Regions from separate parts of the Homo sapiens genome. Here region 2 is linked to region 1. Evidence: promoter capture Hi-C in 16 types of primary human blood cells and fetal thymus (Javierre and others, 2016). All regions are on one chromosome and are shown on one strand. Each heading gives the region's core, a stretch centred on a gene start or on the middle of the fragment in contact. The rest is flanking DNA. Distances are from core to core; before and after follow the strand shown.

The links. Contacts are between HindIII fragments. The CHiCAGO score rates a contact against its expected background, and 5 or more counts as called.
Region 2: a fragment that was not itself captured here is called in contact with the fragment with the promoter of IFIT5 in region 1 in 11 of 17 cell types (neutrophils, naive CD4 T cells, total CD8 T cells and 8 more); the score reaches 9.5 in neutrophils.

The regions. Positions count from the first base shown.
Region 1 is chr10:89,411,234-89,417,312 of GRCh38, forward strand. It overlaps IFIT5 (interferon induced protein with tetratricopeptide repeats 5), which reads left to right and starts at 3,335. Exons shown (of 2, transcript NM_012420.3): 1 at 3,335-3,570; 2 at 5,972-6,079. The coding sequence starts at 3,566. It also overlaps a transcript of LIPA not described here. RefSeq lists enhancers at 3,192-3,501, 4,112-4,211, 4,312-4,381. The HindIII fragment of the contact is 3,334 bases long and covers 3,303-6,079 here.
Region 2 is chr10:89,293,313-89,299,423 of GRCh38, forward strand. It overlaps LOC105378419 (a long non-coding RNA gene), which reads right to left. Exons shown (of 3, transcript NR_188200.1): 2 at 260-356. It also overlaps a transcript of LIPA not described here. Among named protein-coding and RNA genes, the nearest start is that of IFIT2, 5.7 kb to the right of the region's middle. The HindIII fragment of the contact is 8,375 bases long and covers 1-5,903 here.

The DNA of each region.
Region 1 (6,079 bases), core at 2,085-4,584:
AGGAGGAACTCCCTTCAGGACAGGACGGATAGATGGTTCCTCCTGGGCAATTAAGGAAAAAAAAAACACAATGGGTATTCAGTAAATAATAAGGAAACTCTTGTAGAAGCAGTGTTAGGAAAATTGCCTAATAATTGGTCTGCTCAAATGTGTCAGCTGTTTGCACTCAGCCAAACCTTAAAATACTTACAGAATCAGGAAGGAGCCATCTATACCAATTCTAAGTTAATATGGACTGAACGAGGTCTTACTAATAGCAAAGAATAATTGAAATCCCAAACTTACAAGGTTTTCAACTAACGTAAAGTTTGCTAAAAGTTAACAGTGTAACATGCATTATCCTACTACCATACACTCTCAAAGGATTTCTCAGACAGTTTGCATGAAATAATGAAATCTATCCTTACTCTACAATCCCAAACAGACTCTTTGGCAGCAGCGACTCTCCAAAATCGCCAAGGCCTAGACCTCCTCACTGCTGAGAAAGGAGGACTGTGCAGCTTCTTAGGGGAAGAGTGTTGTTTTTACACTAACCAGTCAGGGATAGCACGAGATGCCACCCGGTGTTTACAGGAAAAGGCTTCTGAAATCAGACAACACCTTTCAAACTCTTATACCAACCTCTGGAGTTGGGCAACATGGCTTCTCCCCTTTCTAGGTCCTGTGGCAGCCATCTTGCTGTTACTTGTCTTTGGGCCCTGTGTTTTTAACCTTCTTGTCAAATTTGTTTCCTCTAGAATTGAGGCCCTCAAGCTACAGATGGTCTTACAAATGGAACCCCAAATGAGTTCAACTAACAACTTCTACCGAGGACCCCTGGACTGACCTGCTGGCCCTTCCACTGGCCTAAAGAGTTCCCCTCTGGAGGACACTACACCTACAGGGCCCCTTCTTCGCCCCTATCCAGCAGAAAGTAGCTAGAGCAGTCATCAGCCAAATTCCCATCAGCAATTGGGGTGTCCTGTTTAGAGGGGGGATTGAGAGGTGAAGCTGGCTGGGCTTCTGGGTCAGGTGGGGACTCAGAGAACTTTTCTGTCTAGCTAAAGGATTGTAAACGCACCAATCAGCACTCTGTGTGTAGCTAAAAGTTTGTAAACGCACCAATCAGCACTCTGTCAAAATGGACCAATCAGCACTCTGTAAAATGGACCAATCAGCACTCTGTAAAATGGACCAATCAGCACTTTGTAAAGTGGACCAATCAGCTCTCTGTAAAATGGACCAATCAGCAGGATATGGGTGGAGCCAAATAAGGGAATAAAAGCAGGCCACCCCAGCCAGCAGCGGCAACCTGCTCGGGTCTGCTTCCACGTCGTGGAAGTTTTGTTCTTTCGCTCTTCGCAACGAATCTTGCTGCTGCTCACTCTTTGGGTCCACACTGCCTTTATGAGCTGTAACACTCACCACAAAGGTCTACGGCTTTACTCCTGAAGTCAGTGAAACCACGAACCCACCGGGAGGAACGAACAACTCCGGACGCGCCACCTTTAAGATCTGTAACACTCACTGTGAAGGTCTGCAGCTGCACTCCTGAAGTCAGCAAGACCACGAACTCACCAGAAGGAAGAAACTCCAGACACATCTGAACATCGAAAGGAACAAACTCCAGACACGCCATCTTTAACAACTGTAGCACTCACAGCGAGAGTCCGCAGCTTCATTCTTGAAGTCACCAAGACCAAAAACCTACTGGAAGGAACCAATTCCGGACACACCATCACCTACGTATTAAGCTCAGCATCACTTAGCTATACTTCTTGATGCTCTCCCTCCCACCACCCCCAACTCCAACAAGCCCCAGTGTGTGTTGTTCCCCACTGTGTCCGTGTGTTCTCATCATTTAGCTCCCACTTACAAGTGAGAACATGCAGTGTTTGGTTTCTGTTCCTGCATTAGTTTGCTGAGGATAATCACTGGAAATACTTGCTCTGTATTTAGAGTTCATAAAATTTGCAACTTATAAAAAGCAGATTCGTATACCTAAGTTATTCCAAATGTAAGTTTTCTATTAACTTATCAGTTTTTAAATTTATATTAAATTAAAAATCAGGTTCTTAATAGCCACAGGTGACCAGCAGTTTCTGTATAAGACAGTACAACTGTTAGAAGTGATTGCTTTAAATGAGGCACTCGCTTCAGGCACTAAGTTTTGAGGGGTGGGGTGCCAGAAGCTCAGTGATCAAGGTAGACAATATTTCAATGCAATATGTTTTTAAAAATTCAAAATCAGGCCAAGCATAGTGGCTCATGCCTGTAATCCCAGCATTTTGGGAGGCCACGATGGGCGGAACAATATTTAAGGTTTAGAAAAATATTTGTGCCCAGGTGTTGGAGACCAGCCTGGGCAACATGGCAAAACCCCGCCTCTACAAAAAATAAATTAATTAGCCCGACATAGTGGTGCACGCATATAGTCCCAGCCACTCAGGAGGCTGAGGTGGGAGGATCGCTTGAGCCATGAAGGTTGAGGCTGCAGTGAGCTGTCATCTCACCACTGCACTCCAACCTGAGTGACAGAGTGAGACCCTGTCTCAAAAAAAAAAAAAAAACCAAAATCAATGCAAAAGATGAATTATGGACAGGATATTGAGGTTTTGAATACAGACATTAACTCAATAAGGGTAAGGCCCGTGTCTGTTTTCTTTATTGTTATATTGACAGTACTTTGAACAAAGTCTGGCTCTTACAGTTGTTTGTCAATATTTGCTGAATGAATTCAAAGGGGACAAAATGTTTAAGGTATGGGTGTTTGACATTTTCTGCCTAGATCCCCAATACCACTCTTGTCTTTATTGGGTCCTTATTACAAAGCACCATTGGCGAAGGTATGGAAGAGAAGCAGTCTCCTACAATTGTGGGTAAGAGTGGATTTTTAAAGCTATTTGGCAATATCCGTCAAAACTTAAAATGTATATAGATTTTAGCTCCAAATTTCTCAGTTTACACCCAACAGAAATAACAGCATAGATGTATAGCATTGCAGTGTTGCTTGTTGAATCAAAAGACTGGAGTGGAAGCAGGGACTTAAGTTTCCGCCTGTAATCCCAGCACCTTGGGAGGCAGAGGCGGGCGCATCCCTTGAGATCACGACTGGGTGACACAGTGAGACGCTATCTCAAACAAACAAACAAACAAACAAACAGTTACACGGGCAGCATGCGAACTCAGCGTACTCAGGGAGGCAGATAAAAGCCGAGACCAAAGTGAAGGAGCCCAGCTGCAAATTCAACTCCGAAAGACCCTGGACTCCGCAAACGTCTGGCCGCGGCTCTTGAGCTCTTCTATTAAGTTTCGGTTTCTGAAGCTTACGTTTAGTTTCGATTTCTTAAGTTTCAGTTTCTGAGCGCTCGGCATCTGATTCAATCTCCAGTTTCCTGTTCTTGCTGGGGCTGGGGTCTCTCCTTTAACAAAGACACGCCGCGCGGCCGAGTCCAGGGGCTGCAGAGGCCTGGCGCGCGCACGCGCACGCGCACGCCCACCGCGCGGCTTCCCGCGGTCCCCGGTGCTGAGGAGAGAGCGATCCGAGGGACTGCGCCGCCCGGACGGCCTGCAGAGCGCTGCCATCATGAGGTAAGGGTTTTCCTTTGCCTCTCCTCCCAAGCCCTGCGTCGGCCTTGGTTTCAAACCGGGCTGCTTTTATTCATTTCCAGCGCAGTTCTGCGGCCTTTTCAGGGGCCGAGCCCCTCGCGCCCAGCAACCGGGCATCTGCGTTGGGGACCCTCCCCGGGCGCTCTGTCCCGGCGCGCGGCGTCTGAAGTCGGGCCTGCCGGGGAGGGTGGCCGAGTGGACGCTTCTCGGGAGTCCGGCCCCTCCCCAGCGCCTAAGAAGGCCGGTCAGGGAGGAGGAACAGGAGATGCTCCCCGGGAGCCTGTCCCATCCCTGGCGTCTGCGGTCGGGACTGTCAGGGTATGTGCCGGGCGACGCTCCCCCGGAAGGCCTGTCCACCCATCGCGACCCGACGGCTCTTCTCGGCAGCGGCGACGGTGACCGTGCTGGGTCCGCGGCCGCCGCCTCCGGGAAACTGGTCAGCGCCTGCAGAGCCCCCAGGCGCTGTTCCGGGGGCAGCTGCTACGTGCCACGGGTCTCCTTAGGCCTGTCGCGTGCCTCTCTTTCCAGCTGCCATTCCCTCGGTGTGGCATACGCGGTTTCGCCGCAGCCCTGCAGGCGTCAGGTTCGCCTGCCACTGCCAGTTTGCGTTTCTGATTTCTGGGTCTGAGTTCTTCCCTTCCCAGGAGCTACCTCTGTACCAAGCACAGATTGTTATCGTCCCACCCAATCCGCTGTTTTATGAGGATTTCTTTATCTGTTTCCTTTACTGATTTAGTATGATGGCGTCCTTTTCTTGATCATTTTGTATCCCCAGGGGCTAGCACCCCGCCCTGCACGTGGTTAGTGAACCTTCCGCATTTAATGAGTTGAGGAATGAGATGTTAAGGTCTTGGGCTCTAAAAGCAGATAGTCCCTTGTTCTAAATCCGGACTGAACTCCTACTAGTTGAGTGATCCCAAAGTTTCTCAAACTCTGTGAGTCTGTTCCTTATTTGTAAAAATTAATGGTGTCCATCTCTTGGGACTGTGGAAAAGGACAGTAATAAATCCTATCAGTTGACTGCTTAGCACATAATACTTGCACAATAAATGTTAATTATTCCCATTATAAGTTTAAAAAAAAAGTTTAAGTGCCACCCACACATCTAACTTTATTTTTGAGACGGAGTCTCGCCCTGTCACCCAGGCTGTAGTGTAATGGCTCCATCTCGGCTCACTGCAACCTCCGCCTCCCGGGTTCAAGCCATTCCCCTGCCTCAGCTTCCCGTGTAGCTGGGATTACAGGCGTGTGCCACCACGCCTGGCTAATTTTTTGTATCTTTAGTAGAGACGCGGGTTTCACCATGTTGACCGGGCTGGTCTCGAATTCCTGACCTCGTGGTCCACCCGCCTCAGCCTCCCAAAGTGCTGGGATTACAGGCGTGAGCCACAACGCCTGGCCACATCTAACATTTGTAAGAAAGGAGAGTGCTATCAGGAAGGGGCTTGACAACAACAACAACAACAAAACAACAACAACAACAAAAAACAGAAAAAGACGGTGGCGTGCACCGTATATATGCAGGATGGGGAGGAAAAGGGCTCAGCCCCATTGGGGACTGTCTCCCAAGGACAATGAAAGTCTGCTTCTTCCTAGCAGAAGAACAGAATTACCGAAAGATACGTGTTACCTCTTCTGATGCAATAGCTTCTCTCTTATTAGCTTCCCAAAGACAAAGTTACAAAATTAAGTAGACAAAGTTTAAACAATAAAAATTCTCATGGTGTCCAGTTGTGCATAAATTCCAGAGCCTGGACAAACCACGTCAGTACCTGATTGAATGTCCCTTTGAGATCTTACAACCAAATCCATAATACCTGAGCAGCCCTCCTCATCCTCCTTGGGCTGGGCTGGTAGAGACCTTCAAAACAGGTGTTTGTTTTAGGCAGGGGGCTGGTAAAGCCATGTTGTTGTGGATTTAAGCAGGCTGTAAGGACATGGCATGTCTTGCCCATATTTTTGGTACAATTACACTAGAGAAAGGAACAATTACCAAGGAGCAATTTTACCAGGTTTCCTAGTCAGGATCAGTACTCATAATACAAAAATGGAATTTTCATATTAATTATTGAATATGTATATATTCATTCCTAATTTTCAATGGTTTAGTGATTGCCAAAAGGAAATAGATACATGTAATACAGAAAGCTCTGTCATCTCTCCAGAACTGTTTTTGCAATAAATAGTGAGAATTTAAATGAAATATTTCTAGGACATAACTGTATATAGAAGAAACTCTAGTATAAAGTTATGGGAAACTTATGTTTTAACTGTAAGATCAAATAGGGATAAAATTAGTTGTTATGCAAAGAACAATATTTAAGGTTTAGAAAATTATTTCTTGTATTTCTTCAAAAATTAAAAAGTATTTTATCTTTGACAGTGAAATTCGTAAGGACACCTTGAAGGCCATTCTGTTGGAGTTAGAATGTCATTTTACATGGAATTTACTTAAGGAAGACATTGATCTGTTTGAGGTAGAAGATACAAT
Region 2 (6,111 bases), core at 466-2,965, 120 kb before region 1:
TCTCAGGTAGTATCTTTCTAGAGTATGAGAACAGACTAACACAGTTTCCATCTCTATTACTTAACAGCAGCAGCCAGATCCCGGCCCCCTTTTCTCCACCCATATGTAATTCCTCTTACGGTCTCCACTTACTCTTTTTTTTCCCCATGGACTTGTCCCATATTGTCTAATTTATTTATTATTGTATTAGTCTACATTGGCTGCCATAATGAAAAATCACAGACTAGGTGGCTTAAGCAACAGAAATCTATTTTCTCACAGTTCTAGATGCTAGAAGTCCAAGTTGGTTTCTGGTGAGACCTCTCTTCCTGACCTGGAGATGGCAGCCTTTTCTTTATCTTCACATGGCCTTTCCTCTGTGTGAGATGAGAGAGAGAGAGAGAGAGAGAGAGAGAGAGAGAGATATCTGAGGTCTCTTCTTTTTCTTCTTGTTTGTATGAAGACGTCAGTGTTACCAGATTAGGGGTTACCAGATTAGGGGCCCCACCCTTAAGACCTCATTTAACCTTAAATACCTCCTCACAGGCCCTATCTCCAAACAAAGTTACGTTGAGGGTTAGGGCTTCAATGATGAATTTTGGGAAAGGAGTTGGGAACTCAATTCAGTCCAAAGCAGTTGTTTATTGCCATCTCTTCCTGATAGAATATAAGCTCCATGAAGACAGAGATCTTTGTGTACTGATGTATCTTAAGAGCCTAGAATGGTGCCTGGCACATAGTAGATTCTCAGTAAGTATTGATTTGATGAACGAATGGTGAATGAATGAATGAAACAAATACTCCTAGTGTTCTAACAGGGATAAGTGTACAAATTGTCCCAGCAGAAGTTTATTTAGCATGGTCTTATTTCTGAATAGGACTATGGAAAGATAAAGTCATTTACCCGCATCAAGTTTCCACTCAAAGACTGCCCAACTGCAGTCTAAAAAATTAATGCTGAAAAATGTCTTAGTCCATTTTTTTCTGCTATAACAGAATACCACAGATGGGCAGATTGGGAGATTGGGTAATTTATAATGAACAGACATTTATGGACACATGGTTCTGGAGGCTGGAAAGTCCAAGATCAAGGGGCCACATCTGGCCAGGGCCCTCTTACTGGGTCATCCCATGATGGAAGGGTAAATAGGGGGTGAGGGTGAGCAAGAGAAGGTTGAAGTCATCCTTTTATATGGAACTCCGTCCCTCAATAATGGCATTAATCTATTCAAGAGGACAATGCCCCCATAACCCAAATACCTCCCATTAGGTCCCACCTCCCAACACTGCCACATTGGGGATCAAGTTTCCAACACATGAACTTTGGAGGACATATTCAAACCACAGCAAGAAGAAATGGTGTTTAATTAATTTTTGAAAAAAGAATAAGAATGGGGAGCTGGCCAAGTGCTGTGGCTTATGCCTGTAATCCCAGCACTTTGGGATGCTGAAGCAGGAAGATCAGTTGATCCCAGGAGTTTGAGAGCAGCCTGGGAAACATAGTGAGACCCTATCTCTACAAGAAATAAAAAATTAGCTGGGTGTAGTGGCACTCATCTGTGATCCCAGCTACTCAGGAGACTGAGGTGGGAAGATCACTTGAGCCTGGGAGGGAGGTCAAGGCGACAGTGAGCTCTGATTGCGCCACTGCACTCCAGCCTGGGTGACAGAGCAAGACTCTGTCTGAAAAGAAAAAAGAAAAAAAGGAAGAAAGGAAAGGAAATGAAATGAAAGGAAAGGAAAGGAAAGGAAAGGAAAGGAAAGGAAAGGAAAGGAAAGGAAAGGAATGGAAAGGAAAAAAGAATGGGGAGCTATTTTATTAACTATATCAATATTTTTGAAGTTCATGTGGAAGACCATTTTAAACGTGTATTTGTGAATGAGTACAGAAGGGAATGTCATATAGGTGGGAACACATTGTTTTCAAATTACAGCCCATTGTGGGGATCAAGAGAACCCACTGGGCTACCTAAGTATTCCTCTAACAAGTGCGAATACTATTGAACAGTCACCAGCTCTTCTAGGTGGACAAAACTTCAGTTAAAAATAGACTCAAAACAAAAAAGAGGGTCAAATTTTTTAAAAAATCTCAAGGAAAAAGCATAGAGTTTCATTTTATAGAAGTAAAAGTATTTTTGCTTACATTCAATATATTATTTGGTTCTCAGACTTTAGCATCCATTATAATTATCTGGAAGGCTTATCAACACCTAGATTTCTGGGTCCCACACTGGAATTTCTGATTCTATCAGTCTAGAATGGGGCCTAAGAATTTGCACTTCCAGGTGATGCTGATATTGCTGGTGGCAAGTAGCAATATGAGAATTATTGCATTATACCATCTGTAGTTGATGTAACCCATTCCAGGAACAGGAAGCAAATCTATATTCTATATAAATGAAATCTATTGTTCTAGGAAATATGAACAGGGCCTATATTCCAGGAAAAAGACACATATATATTTGTAGCAACGAGGTTAGGCAGAACTCTTTCTAATAAGTTTCATTTTCTCAAAATAGAAATAACACCAGGAGAAAGTTGGTTTTCCTTTTCAGTTGCTATTTTGCAATCACATTGCATGCATAGTCTCACACTAACCCAGCTACTAAATCAGCTGATGCATACCTGCTGTGGTAACATTATATACAGGCACTAGCCATACAAATTTCTGAAGTGTAAATCAGTATCTCAACCATTTCAAAGCACAGTGACCATGGCAAAACCTTTCTCTATGCTTCTCCCCAACCAGTACCTTTATTCACAAGATTTTAAAATTCCTATCCAATAGTTTTCTTGAATACTGAGTTCAAAAAATAAATCAAACCAAACCCACAGCATTTCCACTTTCCTATTTCAGCATTTCTTAAAAACCTAACATACATTTCTGTAAGTACCTAATAGAACTTGTAAATAGAAGCCAGGCACTGTGGCTCATGCCTGTAATCCTAGCACTTTGGGAGTGCTTCCCAAGGCGGGCAGATCCCTTAAGGCCAGAAGTTCATGACCAGACTGGCCAACATGGCAATACCCCATCTCTACTAAAAATACAAAAATCAGCTGGGCCTGGTAGCTGGGCCAAGTAGCCAGCTACTTGGGAGGGTGAGGCACGAGAACTGCTTGAACCCGGTAGGCAGAGGTTGCAGAGAGCCAAGATCTCACCACTGTAGTCTAGCTTTGGCAACAGAGCGAGACTGTCTCAAAAAAAAAAAAAAAAAGAAGAAGAAGAAGAACTTGTAAACAGAAAAGGAACTTGAAACTCTTGCGTAAGACACAAAAGTAAGGGTTTCCAACTGGGACAGGCTTAGCTGTGCATCCTAATCAAAGGGTGGAGACTTTTTAGGAAGGATAGTTTCTTTTTCCTCCCTGCCCTAGGCAGAAAAAAAATTATGGTAAATAACTTTTCCCAAGACTGAATAACCTACCTTAACAACCTCAGTTTTGCTGGAGAATGTGTTCTATCTGTGCTTTGTGTAATTTTCTGACCTCAATCTTTGAGGTACTATTATTTTCTTTTGGGCCTATATACATGATTACCCCCTTTGTGACTAAGGGTATGAATAAGGAAAATACATTTCTTCTATCATTACAAAACACTATGGCTGTACATTGTGATTTGGGGATGTCAAATACCAGGGCAACAAGCAGGGATTTAAAATATGGTGGGGATTCTGGTTCAGGATGGCTGACTAGAGACATCAGACACCCACCCTCTCTAGAAAGAAGAACCAAAATTATGAATAGATAATTATACCTCGAATAGAACATCTAGGAGACAACACTAGAATTCAACAGAGAAGTCATGGGAAACACCCAAGGCGCAGAAGAAGAAGGTATCAAGTGGCCAGCTTGGCTGAGATTGGCCAGGATAACAGAGGGCCTTGGCATTTCAGGGAAAGGTCAAATGAGAGAACTTCAGCAGTCCACATCCCTCCTGCAAACTGCTGCAATCTGAAACATGAGAGAGTTTCTCTACCCATACAAACTCTGACACCAGTATGGGTGGTGATTTGGAGACCCCACAAGGGTATTTCATGAGACAGGGAACTCACGCTGGGTCTCTCAGCTCCCCCAAGACCTAAGCGGCACCATTGTGAGACTATAGTCATGGAATTACATCCTATCCTGGGAACCGCAGCTCCCATATCTCCATATCCCAGGAGCCCCCAGTGATATTTCCCAGTATCCACCCAGTGGGCTACAGTGACACAGCACTGGCTAGACCCAAAGGTAATACAGTGTCCGCAGCACCCCAGCCCACAGGGAGTACTACTCCCCAGGGAAAGAATGGTGCAATGTGCCAAAAAGACAGCCCCTGATACAAAGGAAACTAAAACATGTCCTTTCCAGAGCCTCCTGTTTGGGGCTGTGAGAAGTGACCCTACCCTTAGCAGCACCACAAACTCTGTACTCGGCCTCACAAGTGGATAGTGAGATACTCTCCCACTAGTGAAGCAGGCTGTGTGCTTGGGCTTACATGTAGAGAGCAGAGCCCCTTCTTGTCCTCTACACACTGCTGCAGGCACAGCCACTGATGCTACTACCAGAGGCTGGGGCAGGGAAGCCAGATGGCCGCCTGTCTGGTGCTGTGAGTGGTGACTGCACCCCCACTGGACGCATGGCCTCTGTGCCTAGGCTCACACCTAAAGAACAGCGTCTCTCCTCTCTCTGCACAGTGCTGCGGGGTTGCTATTACAGAGAATGAAAGAGCCTGAGAGCTGTGTGTCTGTGGTATAGGTGGCAACCCTGCACCACAGCCACTGCCAACATCAGTGTACACTTATCAGAACCCAAGGGTTTGTCCCACCGTTGGCTACTGCCATTGCCCAGATCACATCAGCTGCCCAGGGACTTGAGAACCCACTCACCCACCTGGCCCACTGCTGCCACTATCAGCATCTGAGCAAGCTATCTGGGGGCCCAGGAATTAGCCTACCTGGTCCCACTAACACCAGTGCCAGTGTATGTTGTTCTGGGGCCGAAGATCAGACATCCTCAACCCACTGCTGCCACCACTGGGGCCTGAAGACTGGCCCACATGGCAACCCTGTTCCCAGTAAAATGTCACGATAGCCTCCAAGAATAAACCCCACCCTAAACCATCAAGGAAATCATATATATCACTGATCACAGCCAAATAAATTGTACAGAGGCTACACTACCATGCACACTCAGAATCAAAGTTGAAGTGCCTTACTCAACCAATATTGTTGATATATCTTCAGGAAAAAGTCCTCCCCTACAAAAGCAAATTCAAAAATTGAAAGAAGTGACTATTATATTAGATGCTCAGATATCAGTGAAAGGACACAGGAAGCATGTAAAAGCAAGGAAATATGATACCTTCAAAGGAATACAATTCCCCAGCAACAGATCCCAATCAAAAAGAAATCCAGGAAAAACTATTCAAAATTATACTAAGCACAGTGCCTCACACCTGTAATCCCAGCACTTAGGGAGGACAAGGAGGGTGGATCACCTGAGGTCAGGAGTTCCAGACCAGCCTGGCCAACATAGTGAAAACCCATCTCTACTAAAAATACAAAAATTAGCCAGGCACGGTGGTACATGCCTGTAATCCCAGCTCGAGAGGCTGAGGAAGGAGAATCACTTGAACCAGGGAGGCAGAGGTTGCAGTGAGCAGAGATCGCACCACTGCACTCCAGCCTAGGCAACAGAGTGAGACTCCATCTCAAAAAAATAAAAAATAAAAAAATAATATATATGTATATATAAAAAATACTAAAGAAGCTCAGCAAGATACAAGAGATTTCCAAATCCAATACAATTCAAACAATACACAGAAATCGGAGAAACAATTCAGGATATGAATGAGAAATTTGCCAAAGAAATAGGTATCATAAAAATAACCAAACTGAAATTCTGGAACTGAAGAATTCCTTGAATGAAATACAAAATATACAAGAAGCTTCAACAGTAGACTAGACCAAGCAGAAGAGAAAACATCAGAACTTGAAGACAGGTCTTTTGAAATAATCCAATAAGACGAAAATAAAGAAAAAAAAAGAATTAAAAAGTATGAACAAAGTCTTCACGATCTATGGGACACCATAAGGTGACCAAATATATGAATTATCAGTATCTCCAAAGGCGAAGGGAAACTGAAAGGGTTTG